Linked DNA regions of Homo sapiens: all the other regions are linked to region 3. The links are contacts of gene promoters, found by promoter capture Hi-C in blood cells and fetal thymus (Javierre and others, 2016). All regions are on one chromosome and are shown on one strand. The core of a region is centred on a gene start or on the middle of the fragment in contact, and the rest is flanking DNA. Distances in the headings are between cores, read along the strand shown. Region 1 overlaps OXR1 (oxidation resistance 1). Region 2 overlaps OXR1 (oxidation resistance 1). Region 3 holds the start of NUDCD1 (NudC domain containing 1). Region 4 overlaps OXR1 (oxidation resistance 1). Region 5 overlaps ABRA (actin binding Rho activating protein).

The links. The method cuts DNA at HindIII sites, captures the fragments that hold promoters and counts their contacts. A CHiCAGO score of 5 or more calls a contact.
Region 1: a fragment that was not itself captured here is called in contact with the fragment with the promoter of NUDCD1 in region 3 in 1 of 17 cell types (activated CD4 T cells); the score reaches 7.9 in activated CD4 T cells.
Region 2: a fragment that was not itself captured here is called in contact with the fragment with the promoter of NUDCD1 in region 3 in 1 of 17 cell types (non-activated CD4 T cells); the score reaches 5.5 in non-activated CD4 T cells.
Region 4: a fragment that was not itself captured here is called in contact with the fragment with the promoter of NUDCD1 in region 3 in 2 of 17 cell types (total CD8 T cells and non-activated CD4 T cells); the score reaches 9.3 in total CD8 T cells.
Region 5: a contact is called between a fragment that was not itself captured here and the fragment with the promoter of NUDCD1 in region 3, in 1 of 17 cell types (total CD4 T cells). The highest score is 5.4, in total CD4 T cells.

What each region holds. Positions count from the first base shown.
Region 1 is chr8:106,645,842-106,648,541 of GRCh38, forward strand. The region is part of intron 3 of OXR1 (oxidation resistance 1); the gene reads left to right. All of the region lies in intron 1 of OXR1-AS1 (OXR1 antisense RNA 1), which reads right to left. Among named protein-coding and RNA genes, the nearest start is that of OXR1-AS1, 11 kb to the right of the region's middle. The HindIII fragment of the contact is 682 bases long and covers 1,028-1,709 here.
Region 2 is chr8:106,716,457-106,719,156 of GRCh38, forward strand. The region is part of intron 11 of OXR1 (oxidation resistance 1); the gene reads left to right. Among named protein-coding and RNA genes, the nearest start is that of ABRA, 52 kb to the right of the region's middle. The HindIII fragment of the contact is 233 bases long and covers 1,304-1,536 here.
Region 3 is chr8:109,332,757-109,335,456 of GRCh38, forward strand. NUDCD1 (NudC domain containing 1) reads right to left here and starts at 1,331. Exons shown (of 10, transcript NM_032869.4): 1 at 1,137-1,331. The coding sequence starts at 1,254. ENY2 (ENY2 transcription and export complex 2 subunit) reads left to right here and starts at 1,591. Exons shown (of 5, transcript NM_020189.6): 1 at 1,591-1,718. The coding sequence starts at 1,713. RefSeq lists enhancers at 1,023-1,072, 1,203-1,252, 1,435-2,357, 1,623-1,872. The HindIII fragment of the contact is 6,990 bases long and covers 51-2,700 here.
Region 4 is chr8:106,666,115-106,668,814 of GRCh38, forward strand. The region is part of intron 3 of OXR1 (oxidation resistance 1); the gene reads left to right. Among named protein-coding and RNA genes, the nearest start is that of OXR1-AS1, 9.7 kb to the left of the region's middle. The HindIII fragment of the contact is 2,952 bases long and covers 1-2,700 here.
Region 5 is chr8:106,759,698-106,762,397 of GRCh38, forward strand. It overlaps ABRA (actin binding Rho activating protein), which reads right to left. Exons shown (of 2, transcript NM_139166.5): 2 at 1-1,817. The coding sequence ends at 1,340. Among named protein-coding and RNA genes, the nearest start is that of ABRA, 9.2 kb to the right of the region's middle. The HindIII fragment of the contact is 1,333 bases long and covers 758-2,090 here.

The DNA.
Region 1 (2,700 bases), core at 119-2,618, 2.7 Mb before region 3:
TGGACAATTGATAAAAATTTGTCATTGCTGCCCAGCACTTTCTCTGAGATGGATGAACTTATAGGTAGGCTCTCTTTTTATTGTACTTCATTTCATCTTGTATTGACACAGCCCCAGTTATAGACTTTCCCCCAACAGAAGGAACAACAACAACAAAAAACTACCTAACTACTGGTTACAGGTTAAAGCTGGAAATGTGCTGGCAACAGATTTAGGTTTTTCCAATATTATTTTGCCTGTTCATCTTCTTTTTTCTCTATTATCTTTTTTTTTTCTTTTTTTGAGACAGAGTCTCACTCTGTTGCCCAGGCTAGAGTGCAGTGGCGTGATCTCGGCTCACTGCAACCTCCGCCCCCCAAGTTCAAACGATTCTCCTGCCTCAGTTTCCCAAGTAGCTGGGATTACAGGTGCACACCACCAAGCCTGACTAATTTTTGTAATTTTTAGTAGAGATTGGTTTTCGCTATGTTGGCCAGGCTGGTCTCAAACTCCTGACCTCAGGGTGATCTGCTCACCTCAGATTCCCAAAGTGCTGGAATTACAGGCATGAGCCACCGCGCTTGGCCCTATTATCTTTAATAAAAACAAAGATAGGGAAATTATCCAAAAAATTAGCTAAAAGCTATATAACTTTAAAATATGTGAAATTAATAATTTCAATAAAGTACTTAATATACCACAAAACAAATGTTTTCACTTATCAGCTTTTCAGATTAAGTATCAAAATTCTATTCAAGTAACATGAGAAGGTACAGCAATATGTGAAGACCCATTATAGAATTAAGAGAGGAGAAGAGGAAGAACAAGGGTAAAGAAGGGCCCAGAAAGATAAAAAGACAGAGGGTAAGACCTCCTTATAGCTATGCATACAGTACCTTCTGTAGACACACACTCTCTACTGCAACCTCAAAGAAAGTGCAGGCAGGAAAAGAAATCTGCAGAAGAAAGAAAATGAGAATGTTTGTCTTCATGATGTAACATTATTCTTTGGGTGTCCTGATGAGCTATTGTTCCTCAAGGTTTTTAAAGCTTTATTGAGTTTTCAGAACTTTAAGCACCATTGGTAATACCAATTGGCACTTGTCCAATGAGCTGAGTGAAACTGATCCAAAAGCTCCAGAAGCTGCCACATTCCAGGTATGGAGTATTTGGGGGCTGTAATTATACCATTGTAATTACTGTCTTTAATAGGATTAAAAATAGAACTGGAATAATTCTATGGTAAGTTGATGTCACTTATTGTGACCCAAGTTTCAATTATAATTGTTAACGATGCTATTGCTGAGTCCTTGTTTGGCTTGACTGCCATGCAGTGTTTTTCTGATGAGTGAAGGAGTTAACACCTTTTGGACAATTTTCAGAATTGAAAGAAAATTACTTGGTTTTTAGTAGGGTTTGTAATTATTATATCCAAGGTTGGTATCTTCTAGAGGGGAACTTTTTAGAAAATTAATATTAGACTCTCTCCCAGTCTATTGAAAGGCCGTATTAAATCTCTATCATATACTCTTCAATGCTGTGATCATGATTATATTCAAACGATAACCCACATTCTTCCTCTTTGTGGTCATTTGGGACACAGGTGGCAGTCTCACATATGATAAGGAATTTGAATGTTAGCATAAACCATTTTAGTGGCAAAAAACACACAAATGCTTTATATAAAAAAAGAGTCAATTTTAAGGGTATCAAATTTGTCTATGAAGTTAAGCTTTAGGTTTACTGGCAGATGCAGATGTAGTGACTGTATAATAGATTCATGCCTTAGTTTCTAAACTTACAAAATCTGTTTGCTTAGTTTAGTGTCAGATTGTCAGTCTGCTTTATTGATTCCATCAGTGGTTTGGCTTATCATATCAGAAATTTGAGTGCTGACTTCTGGCCTCAAGCGATCCTCTGGCCTCAGCCTCCCAACGTGCTTAGATTACGGGTGTGGGCTATGATGCCCAACCCTAACATTTCTATCTTATGAAATAGTTGACAGGTAGATATAATTTGTTACTGGAGAAGATTATTTTTTCATTTTGTTCTTTTAAGATCCAATTGTTATTTTCTGAGTTTATTAACATAGCTAGCCTTATAATGAGAACACAGCTCTCACTTTTACCATTTTGCTTAAAGATTTGCAGATGTGTCGTGCTCATATACTTCAATGTCTCTGTGTTTTCTCAGGATGTTACAGTTCTGCTTCTTTTATTTCCTAAAATTCAATAATTTTATCTGTGTTAAAAAGTATTTTAAAATGTAATGAACACAATGTTGTGGCTACTCATAATAGTTTTAGTGAATCAGGAAGTATGCCAGGGGATGGTTGTTAGTAGAAAAACCATTTCATGTCATCTTCAGTAAAAGATAAAGAAGTGAGCTTGAATTCAGAGAGCTTGGTATATAGGATGACTGACAGAGATAGGAGCTGGGGCAGGAATAAAAAGATTGAGAAGATTGAACATTAAACAGAACTTCAGTCATTAGCCAATGTAAACAAGCAATCAAAGAATAGTCCCCTTAAAATAGGAATCATTTAATTCATCTAACAATTAAGAAAATATAAACATTACAAACCAATGTTTTTGTTAATCTGGTTCTAATTATTTTTAGGTTACTGATGATATTCTTTTAGTATAAAAATATAAAATCAGAGCCATTTGCCTAGTTTTCATGTCATTTTTCTTCATATTTTCAGAAATCATTGTCTTACTT
Region 2 (2,700 bases), core at 170-2,669, 2.6 Mb before region 3:
TACTAAAAATACAAAAAATTAGCCGGGCGCGGTGGTGGGTGCCTGTAGTCCCAGCTACTCGGGAGGCTGAGGCAGGAGAATGGCGTGAACCCGGGAAGCGGAGCTTGCAGTGAGCCGAGATTGCGCCACTGCAGTCCGCAGTCCGGCCTGGGCGACAGAGCGAGACTCCGTCTCAAAAAAAAAAAAAAAAAAAAAAAAAAAAAAATACACACTGGATTTTAATGACTTAGAATGGAAAGAAAAAAGAATGTAAACATCTTGTTTGTTTATACTGATTAATATTGAAGTGATAATATTTTGAATACATTAGGTTAAATAAACTATATTAATACAATTAATTTCACTTTTTTAATGTGGTGTCTAGAAAATTTACAATTGTAATGTATCTTACATTATATTGCTCTTGTGCAGTGCAGGTCTATGCCTCATGGATACTAAGTGCCTAAAAAAATGTTTGTTAAACTAGGGAGGCCGAGGGTAACAAATAAAAAATGTTAAACTAGGGTGGATCACGAGGTCAGGAGTTTGAGACCAGCCTGGCCAATATGGTAAAACCCTGTCTCTACTAAAAATACAAAAATTAGCTGGACGTGGTAGCACACGCCTGTAGTCCCAGTTGCTCGGGAGGCTGAGGCAGGAGAATCACTTGAACCTGGGAGGCGGAGATTGCAGTGAGCCAAGATCACACCACTGCACTCCAGCCTGGGCAACAGAGTGAGACTCCATCTCAAAAAAAATAAATAAATAAAATAAAAATGTTTGTTAAACTAATGAGTACTCATTTAAGTGAAAGAGTAATTTTAAATGTTAACATGATTTATTTTAAAACAGGAAGAATTTGGCTAAAGCCCTTATATAAAACAGTAGTACTTCAGAATGTGCCGTGATGTTTTTTATTTTTTTGTTCTACAAAGGAATGGAGAATAGGTGTCCTAGAATTTAGGATGAACTTGTTATGGCTACCAACTTGGGCATCAGTTAGATTTAAACTAACACCTCTACTCACTGTTATTCTGCTTTAGTGATACTTAAAAAAGATCTTTATTATCCCTGACTGTTACTCAAGCAGAAATATATTGCTAGCCAGAAATGTATACATTGACTGGGGAAGTTTGTATATGATAAATTTGGTAAACTTATTGTTTGCTTTTTTCTCCCTTTCCCTATGTAAGTGTCATAAGGCAGGGATTTGTCAATTTCATACACTATTATATCTTCAGAACTAAGAATTGTATAGGCATATAGTTCATTCTCAATATTTATTAATGGATAAACTTGGGCGTAGATTAAAATTAAGGTATAAAGCTTCTAATCTTTCAAGATTGCTCTATTTCCTGAAATAAGTTCTTACATCAGTTGTAGTAAATATTTTCATAAAGCCATAGATTCTGGACATTTTAACTAATAGTCCACAGTCTGTCATTTACATTTTTTTTTGTTCTGTTTAAACATATTCAGTGAAAGGGAATTTGTTACCTCAAAGGGCAATACTTTACATTTTAGGACAGCTCTGTTAGAAAGTTATTTGTTACAATAAGCTTAAGGAAACATATCTTTGTAAATTGGATTCATTTATCTTTATTCTGTCTTCCAATGCAAGTCAATAACAACAAGAAACATTTTCTATTTACTGCGATAGTGTGAAAATGTTTGTCTTCCCTTTTAATCTTGTTTCAGAATTATTTTTTCCAGTACTTCAACTGTTTAACTTTATGAACTCTATTCAGATCTTATTCATATCAGTACCCTAAAATATGTTAAAAGAGTTCATAAACTATGGCACCCCAAATTACTAAAATGTACACTTGGGATAGCAGGAAAAATTCCGTAATATTTTTAAAAATTTTAATTTCCAAATATGAACATTGAAGACCAGTCCTATTGAAGACAGACAGAAACATATATTTACTAAGAAAAAGAAAATTTAGCCAAATTTTAAGGTGGTCAGGAGTAAAAGTTCCTAATGATAAATCAGTTCCTAAGTATTTGGATAAAGGATCTGAGAAATACTATTCTTACTGCTCACGATGTGTAAAGGACTGAATTTCCTCTTTTTGTAGTGTTACTTTGTATGCCACATGATAAAGAGTACTTTGGTGTGGGTCGGGCGTGGTGGCTCACGCCTGTAATCCCAGCACTTTGGGAGGCCGAGACAGGTGGATCACGAGGTCAGGAGATCGAGACCATCCTGGCTAACATGGTGAAACCCCGTCTCTACTAAAAATACAAAAAATTAGCCGGGCGTGGTGGCGGGCGCTTCTTGTTGTAGCTACTCGGGAGGCTGAGGCAGGAGAATGGCGTGAACCTGGGAGGTGGAGCGTGCAGTGAGCCAAGATCATGCCACTGCACTGCAGCCTGGGCGACAGAGCGAGACTCCACCTCAAAAAAAAAAAAAAGGAGCTATGCCTGAATTAATTGCGTCAACATGGCTGCTATTGATAAGAAAGCATGTTTTTAAACAATCAAGGCACAAAATGATTAAGGAAACCTTTCTTCATAGTGAACCAAACTTATGTTTTTGGTGTGATACCCAAATAAAAGAAATATGCATTATGAGTCTTGCTTTTGGGGATCTGATAACCTTATTTGATAACTGAGAAGGAACTACTTATTACAGTCTTTCCCCTGATTTCTGCCGGTATTCAACACAGGAAGTCAATAAGTATATCCAGTGTTGTGAGGATACTGTTTGATGTGGGG
Region 3 (2,700 bases), core at 81-2,580:
AAGAAACACGGTGGCAAAGAGGAAAAGGAAAAAAATAAAAAGAAAAATCAAGCTTATCCTCTCTCATCCTAGTCAACTCTTAACCTACCCTTCAAAGCTCAACTTAGATATTAACTCCTCCAAGACGCCTTCCCAGATCCCCAGACTAGTTTAGGAAAGATATTCAAGTACTACCATTGTATTTTGTACATATCCCTATCACTGCCTTCCCATATTGTTTTACAATTATCTGTTTACAATTTTCTTCCTAACTAGCTAATAGTCCTCTTTTGTTACGGAAGGTGTCTTGTTCATTTTGATATTATCAGGACGTAACACAAAACAGGTACTCGGTAAATATTTCTGAATTTAATAAATCAATTAGCATAAACTTATTTTATACTTTAATGTCTGTTATTATAATTAACTGTAGATCACTATTTCTCAAAGTGTGATCTCTGAAAACATGCATCAGAATCAGCAGGGGTGTGAATTTTAAAATGCAGATCTCTGGGCTCTATCATAACGAAAATGCCGTTAAGTTGTAAAAACAAGAGTAAGGATATTCTACCAGCTACAGATAAAGCAAGGAGTAGCAGTGTGGGAGTAAATCCACTTTTCCTCACTATCTTCTAGAGATGTTCTCTACCAGAGTTCTTAATGTGCCAGGAACTGAGTAATTAAAAATGCTATGACTGGAATGTAGTTTCTCTTCTAAGAAACGGCTCTCGGTCAGAGGAAACAGGAACTGGGGGTCCTCCAAGGAGGTGTGGTTTCTCAACGCACACGTTCACAAGCGATGCTCCAGGAGGAAGGAATGTTCTCAGCGTCCCCCGAAACAGAAGCCAGGCTGTGGACACACAGCAGCCAGAGCCCCAGGCACTACCCGCACGCCAGCCCTCAGACCTCAGACCTCAGAGGCTGGGCTGCTGACGGAGGGGGCCCAGGGTCCCGTTACCGAAGAGCGCGCGAAGGCGGCTCCCACCGGGTTCTGGGATGGGCATCATTCCCCAGAAGCAGCGGCCTCCGTGAGTCCACGCAAGCCGCCACGGTGGCTTCGCTTGCCAGTCAGAAAGAAAGAAATTGCGGGAAGGGTCAGGCCGGAGGCAGCCGAAAGGGGAAAGGAACGGAGTACGAAGGGCGCCGCCGCTTCCCACCTGCGTCAAGCTCCAGCTGGTAACAAGGCAGCGGCTCAAGAGAGAGCTTGTAACCCTCGAAGCGGGGATCCAACAGAGGTCTCTTCACCCGTAGGGAGCAATTAGCCGCCACCTCCATCGCTTTCCAGGGCCGCAGCGTGAGAATTAATAAAGCCCTTGTTGAAAGGTCCGCGCTTCACGCCTCGCACAGAGACTGGGAAGCGGCGTGGTTCCCATCCCAGAAAACACTGCGGTGCGAACTGCCTTCTGGGAAATGTAGTGTCCGTGAAAAAGTTGAGACTGTTGCATGCTGGGCTATGTAGTTCTCCTGGTACTTAACGCGCGCGCGACGGCAAGGTCTGAACTCTGTTACCCAGAGGCCCTAGCAACCAGGAGGCGGCCCGCGCTGGTTAAATTCTCACATTATAGGCAGGGTGGCGAGACCCCGCCCCGGAAATGCGTGTTCTAGCTTTCTGTGTGCTTAGGTGCCCGAGCTACTGAGGGTCTAAGTCCGGGCAGCCGAAGAGTGTGGTAGGTAACGGTCCTCAGCGCAAGGGTCATTTCGTCGCTGGGAAGGGACGGCCCTCGCCCGCGGTGATGGTGGTGAGCTATGCCCGTGGTCCTCAGGGCCGGGACCCGGGCCCAGCCCAGGCTCCTTTCGATGTACTGTCTTTCGTTAGCGTCCCCGACCCGCGCTCGCGGGCCTGTAGGGCTCTCCGACAGGGCGTGCTACCGGAGTTGGCCTGAAACCAGTCCTCGCTTTGTTTTCTGGCTCCTCCTCTCCCGCCTCTCCCGCTGTCTCCGCCCTGTTCTATTTTCCCTAAGAATGTCTGAACTGGGAGGGATACCCTAGCGCCCTTGTTTTACCAGTGAGAAAACTGAGGCCTTTAAGAATTAAGTGACTTGTCCAAGGTCACTATCCGTATTTTAGGAGCCAAGACGAGATCAAGTTCAATATTCCAGGAGTGGTACTGACTAGACCTTGTAGTTATTTTGAAAATGTTAGCCTCCAATTACAAAAGCAAGCATTTCCTAGTTCTCACTCAACTTCTCCTTTTCCCTGTTCCTCTCAAAAAAGAAAAAAAAAATCAACTCTGGTAACTCATTGCCAGTCTGAATTTTCAATAGGCCAGATGGAAGACAACAAAAGTAATCTCAAGTTAGTGACAGATTAGGTGGGAAAACGTTAGTTTACGCCAAGTTTTATTTAATTTAAACTTTTAAGTGGCTTTAACGCTTTCAAAACCTAACTTTCCTCTTCTTTCAACATCATTTTGGTTTGGGTTGTCTGTTTTTACTGACAATTGAGGACTTTGTAAGTTAGGAATTAGTTTGAGATTTGTTTTCTTCTTATCCCACCAGCAGTGTGTGTGTAAACACACACATCCACACACTTAGGTTTAGCAGTTGTAATTGTGGGTTCATCCTAGTGAAGAGTAAAGCAAAACACTTAGAGCCTTATCTAGTAATTTTATTTTTTTTGATTAATTAATTTTTTTTTTTTTTTTTGAGACAGAGTCTTGCCCTGTCACCCAGGCTGGAGTGCAGCAGCGCAATGTCGGCTCACTGCAACCTCTGTCTCCTG
Region 4 (2,700 bases), core at 113-2,612, 2.7 Mb before region 3:
AAAAGCACTTCTGTACAAGGGGAAAACAATTAATCCAAATATGCAGTTATCTAACAGTCCATCTTAACTGAGAGGTAGGTTTTACATTTTAAACTATAGATTTTAGATAGTTACGACTCTCTGTTTTGGATTTTTTTGAGAGTACTACTCAATAGAATTTTTTGAGGTGATGAAAATGGTCTGTATCTGTGATGGCCAGTATGGTAGCCACTAGGCAAATATGGCTATTGAGTATCTGAATTGCAGCTAATGCAAATGAGGAACTGGATTGAGAAAATTGGATTCAGGATTCTGTATTTGCTCTATCTAATATGGTAGCAACTAGTGTTAAAGGAAAAATTATTTGATAATACTTCCTAAAGCACAATAAGACAGACTTTATTCAGGACCATTGCAATAGGGATAGGGACTGTGGCAATGAGATTTTGTAGTTGAGGAGAGAGATTGGGCTCAACTCCAAATACAAAATGGGCAAGTGGGAATTTCTAGCCAAGGAGTAGAGTAAGGATAGATGGATGGACAATTGCTAAGAGGTAACGTCAGGAATAAGGGGTATTATGGTGAAACTGACCTACCAGGATTCTTGCTGAAGGCAGGCCAGAGTAATCAGACTTCACCTGGACAGTGGAGGATGAGAAAACTGATCAGATACGGAAGGTAATCAGATATCCAGGATCGGGGTGGGGGTTCCTGCTACACTGACCTTAACATGATTCTTGCTGAAACTCGGTTTTATAAGGAAGTGAACAGATTGGCATAGGAGAAGGTTCAGCAGCCTGACTAAAATTTGGCTATGCAAATAATCTTTGTGACTAGGCACATGTAGCTATTTTAATGTAAATTAATTTAATTAAGTAAAACTTTAAATTCAGTTTTCAGTCTCACTAGAGACATTTCAAGTACTCACAAGACAGATGGCTAGTGGCTACCATATTATACAAGGCAGATATAAAACATTTTTACCATTGCAGAAAGTTTTATTGGGCAGCATTGATAGCAATGAGTCCCAATGCAGGGTACACATTAGAATTCCCTGGGTAGCCATGAAAAAATTTTGATGCCAAGATCTGATTATAATCAAAGATTTGATCTTGAAATCTCTGTTTAAGATCTCCACTTACAGTTTCTTACGGAATTCTAATATGTAACTAGGGTTAAAAACCACTGACTTAGGATGTGAAGGACTCTACATCATTCTGTTTTCCTTAATGATATTTCTCTCAATCAAACTCTTGCTGAATTTAGCAGGTTATTATTTATTTATTTTTCTTTACAAGTACTTGGGGCATGCACCTATTTTATGATGCAAGTTAATAAAAGAAATGCATGTTTAAGTTTTCTGCCAACCTCTGGATAGTATTGAGACCTTAGGAAAGTTGAGGTGACTTACAATGAAAAGTTCCTAAAAGGAAGACATGTTTGTATGCTGAGAGAAAGATGCTGAAGATAAAATGACTGTGTGGCAAGGTCCTTGTGGAATAAATAAACTACTGGAATTATGATCATTCTTTTTTCACATGCCACAATTAAGAGCCATTAATATTGTGGAATATTTGCTTCCAGTCTTTTATACGAAATTAATTTTTAAAATAAACCTGATATATACTATATATAAATAAGTCATATGTTGCAAATACTGAACTTTAAAAATCACCTCTAATCCAGTCACCCAGAGATACTGTTAATATTTGGGTAGGCATTACTGCCAAGTAATGTACATCACTTCTATGTGTATGTACATATAGAAGGATGGATGGGTGGTTAGAAGGAGGGAGTGACAGAATGAAAGATAATACTTATTCACCACAAGAGGTTAATTCCTAAGGGGTGTGTCTAAATTTAAGCAAATTCTAAAAAAAAAAAAAAGAAAAAAAATTACAGATACTGTTATTACAATCTTGTTTCAGTTTTAGGTGGGATATATTTAACCATGCTTTGGTATGACATTAGCAGTTTCATTTCTCATTTTTCTCCTCCTCACATCCTAATATTTACTCATTTTACTATTTTTACATTGTCCATGTTTGTAACATTCATACTTAGTTTTTCAACCACTTTTTTATAACTTATTATTGTTCTATATTCTCTAGTAACCTTTTAGAATGTCCTCCTTGATTCTGGAGTTTTTGATACAATTGGCATAATTTCAGTCTTATAGCACTGAGTAATGTTTCAGTAGAGAAGTCTCATGCAAGCCAGCCAGATTCTTTTCCATTTCCCCTAGTAGATGATTTGCTTTTTATGCATGAATTGTTGAATAATTTTTTAAGCTCCCAAGCATAATAATTTAACTAAGAGTAGAAATGGGAATAGCCTGACTCATGTGCCCACATGTGTCTATGTGGAATAATCTTTTAGGAATTACACCTTTCTTCTGGAATACATGTTGATGGAGCAGCCACTATATGGAAGATCTCTGGTTTTGAGATAGAAAAGAGAGCTAAGAAGTACAATTTTGGCTCCAAACACTTCCACCTGGAAGACATATATGGTTCATTGGGCAAAGCAAGTTGGCCATGTCTGACATCAATAGGATGGTGAGGTATATTTTATATTCCTCAACAGGAAGGAATACAGGCTTAGTAACAATAATATAGTCTATCACCATGACTAATTTAGAAACCATTATATTAGTTTGACAGATTTGAAAACTGCTGGTGTTAACTGTCACAAATATGAAGTTATGTAGGGAAGCCCATT
Region 5 (2,700 bases), core at 174-2,673, 2.6 Mb before region 3:
TAATTCTTATAGCAGTCTAATACCTATTATTTTGAGGTATCATATTTAGACATTAATTTTTACATTTAACACCAAAGTGCTATACTATCAATGCATTTTAGTAATTTCATTGAATCCAGTAAGAATTGCAATCTCACATTCCATTCCATTTGTTTTTAAGATCACATAGGCACATTAATGTCCAATGATTTTCTCCTTGCCATCATCATTGTATATTTTTTACTTTGGCAGAACTAATATTGCAGTTTTATGACTTAAACATTTCATAAAGTTTTCTTTGTTACAGTATGAGGAACATTAAACTGTCTCAAATCTGTTTTTAATTCACCAATGATTCTATGGGATTTTTCTAATACTGAACATTCCACTTCATAGATTTTCTGTATTTCTCCATTGTTGGAGAAATACATATCATTGCATTGATGTTAATGCAAGCAGCTTGACTCGTTATATGCTGACATGTAATGAAACAATAAACTTCTCCAAGAAGTCCTACAAAGGCAAGTAAATCTGAATCTCTCACCTCTGCTCTACTTTTAGTGAGGGTGTGCCTTCCTTTGTTGGTACTAAGACAGGAAGTGTCTGTTTTTATGTGATTTGCTGAAATCAAACAAGAGGAAGGTGAACTCTTACTGGAAACCTGTTAGAATCCAAGCCCACAGAGGAACTTCAACAATTTCAGCAACATCTTGACAACTTTTTATATATGTGCTTGTTTTGTAAGTGATGCTATGATATAAACAATAATACAAAGTCAAGCTTCTGAAAAAATTTTAAGTTTAGTTTTACCAAACTTAATGGTATTTTCTTTTTTCCAAATAAAGACACATTATTATATGTTCTACTGATATTTATCTCAAGTCAGCATTCTTCTTAGATGTAATGTTTAATTAAAAATCTATAGTAGTTTCTACAATGACTAGCTAAATATTTTGCCTAAAATATACAAGTGGCTGGGTGCTGTTGCTCATGCCTATAATCCCAGCTACTTGGGAGGCTGAGGTGAGAGGATCACTTGAGGCCAGGAGTTAAAAGACCAGCTTTGGTGACATAAAGAGAATCTGTCTCAAAACAAAAACAAAAACACCCTGTGGAATTTCAACTATTAATACTATTATTATACATTAACATTCTATGTGCTTTCTGAAATGCTTTGTGCCTTCTCAAAATCTCCAAAATTCCTCATTCTAGATAGAAATAGAATGCCAGAAAGTCGTTTATGTAAAAATTGTTTAATATTTACTAACTTATTACAGAGAGTTTGCATTTTCATTTTACCTACATGAGCATTTAGCATTAAGACCATAGTGGGCCAAATTTGGCTTTTGTTTTTGAAGGTTCACTTGAGTAGCGTAATCACAACATGGTCATCTCGGCCTTGCCATAGCATCTCTCCTTCAAAGTCTACCAGTCCATGTTTCCTGGCACGCATGAGAATGCCCACTACTTTATCTGAAATACGAACGTATCTGTCAAAGAGATCTCCAAAAGTAACCTGGATCTTGCCATCTCGTCTGTGGCGAGCCATTGTGCAGATAATGAAGCACATGTCCATCATTTCCCTGTAGATGTGCTCCTCAGCACGCTTGGCCCTTTCAGCAGTTTTGGTTCCTTCTTTGGGGCGGCCATAGCCCTCATCTCCTTTGTGTAGGCGGGTGGACATGGCCAGCTCGTAATCAAACTCTTCACTGAAAGGATTGAGCTTCTGGGATTGTATGTGTTCATCAGCCCACTGCTGCCATCTCCCTTTCAAGTTGCCCACTGGGCTATATTTCTGTTGGGCTTTGCAGTTGAGTTTCTCTGTAAATCTGTTTACCCTAAAGTAGAGAGAGGGTGAACAATCAAGATTCAGATATGTTAACACCGAGTGTTGTTTTCCCTTTGTACTTCCCACACATATGCATCTTTAATGTAAGTATAATTTTTTCACTACAAAAATAAACACAATATAAAAAATTAGAAATGAAAGAAGAAAAATCATACATAGTCCCACCGTTGTTCTTAGTTTGGTGCATATCCTTCTAGATTGTTTTCTCTATGAATAACGATTTTAAGCATTATAATGATATTAAAATCTATTTTAAGAAAAAAGCTTCCCCACACAAAGTTAATGCAAATGTGTATATCTTTAAGTTGAGTATTGGTAACATTTTAGAACTGAAATCATGTAGGTGTTTTCAGGAATCTAGTTCTTAGAGGACCTCTGAAACCAATTATTTCCCAAAGGTAAGGACTCTACCACTACACATGCAGTTTAATATTTAATCATATATAGATTTTTATATGTGGATTTTTCAGTGAGAGCATATATAGACTAGTATCAATGATGCCACAAACTTCGAAATATGAAGTTGTACAGATAGAAAACACTAGCTAGCAATAGTAACATTTACTGAACACTATGTACTGGCATTCTTCTAAATGCTTTATTAATATTCCCCACAACCATTTCCTGAGATAGGTACTACTATTCCTACTTCACAAATGAGGAAACTGAGGCCAGAGAGATGAAGTAACTTCTTAAAGTCACAAAACTGTTAAGTGGTAGAACTAGACTTTGAACCAAAGTTAAGCTGGCTCCAGAGCCTGTCTATAACTGTGAAATACTGCCCTAAATAGGTGACGTTGCAGGATTCAAACGCAAGACTGCCTTAGACCAAGGTCAATGCTCTTTCTACTATGTAGTGATGCCACTCAGCA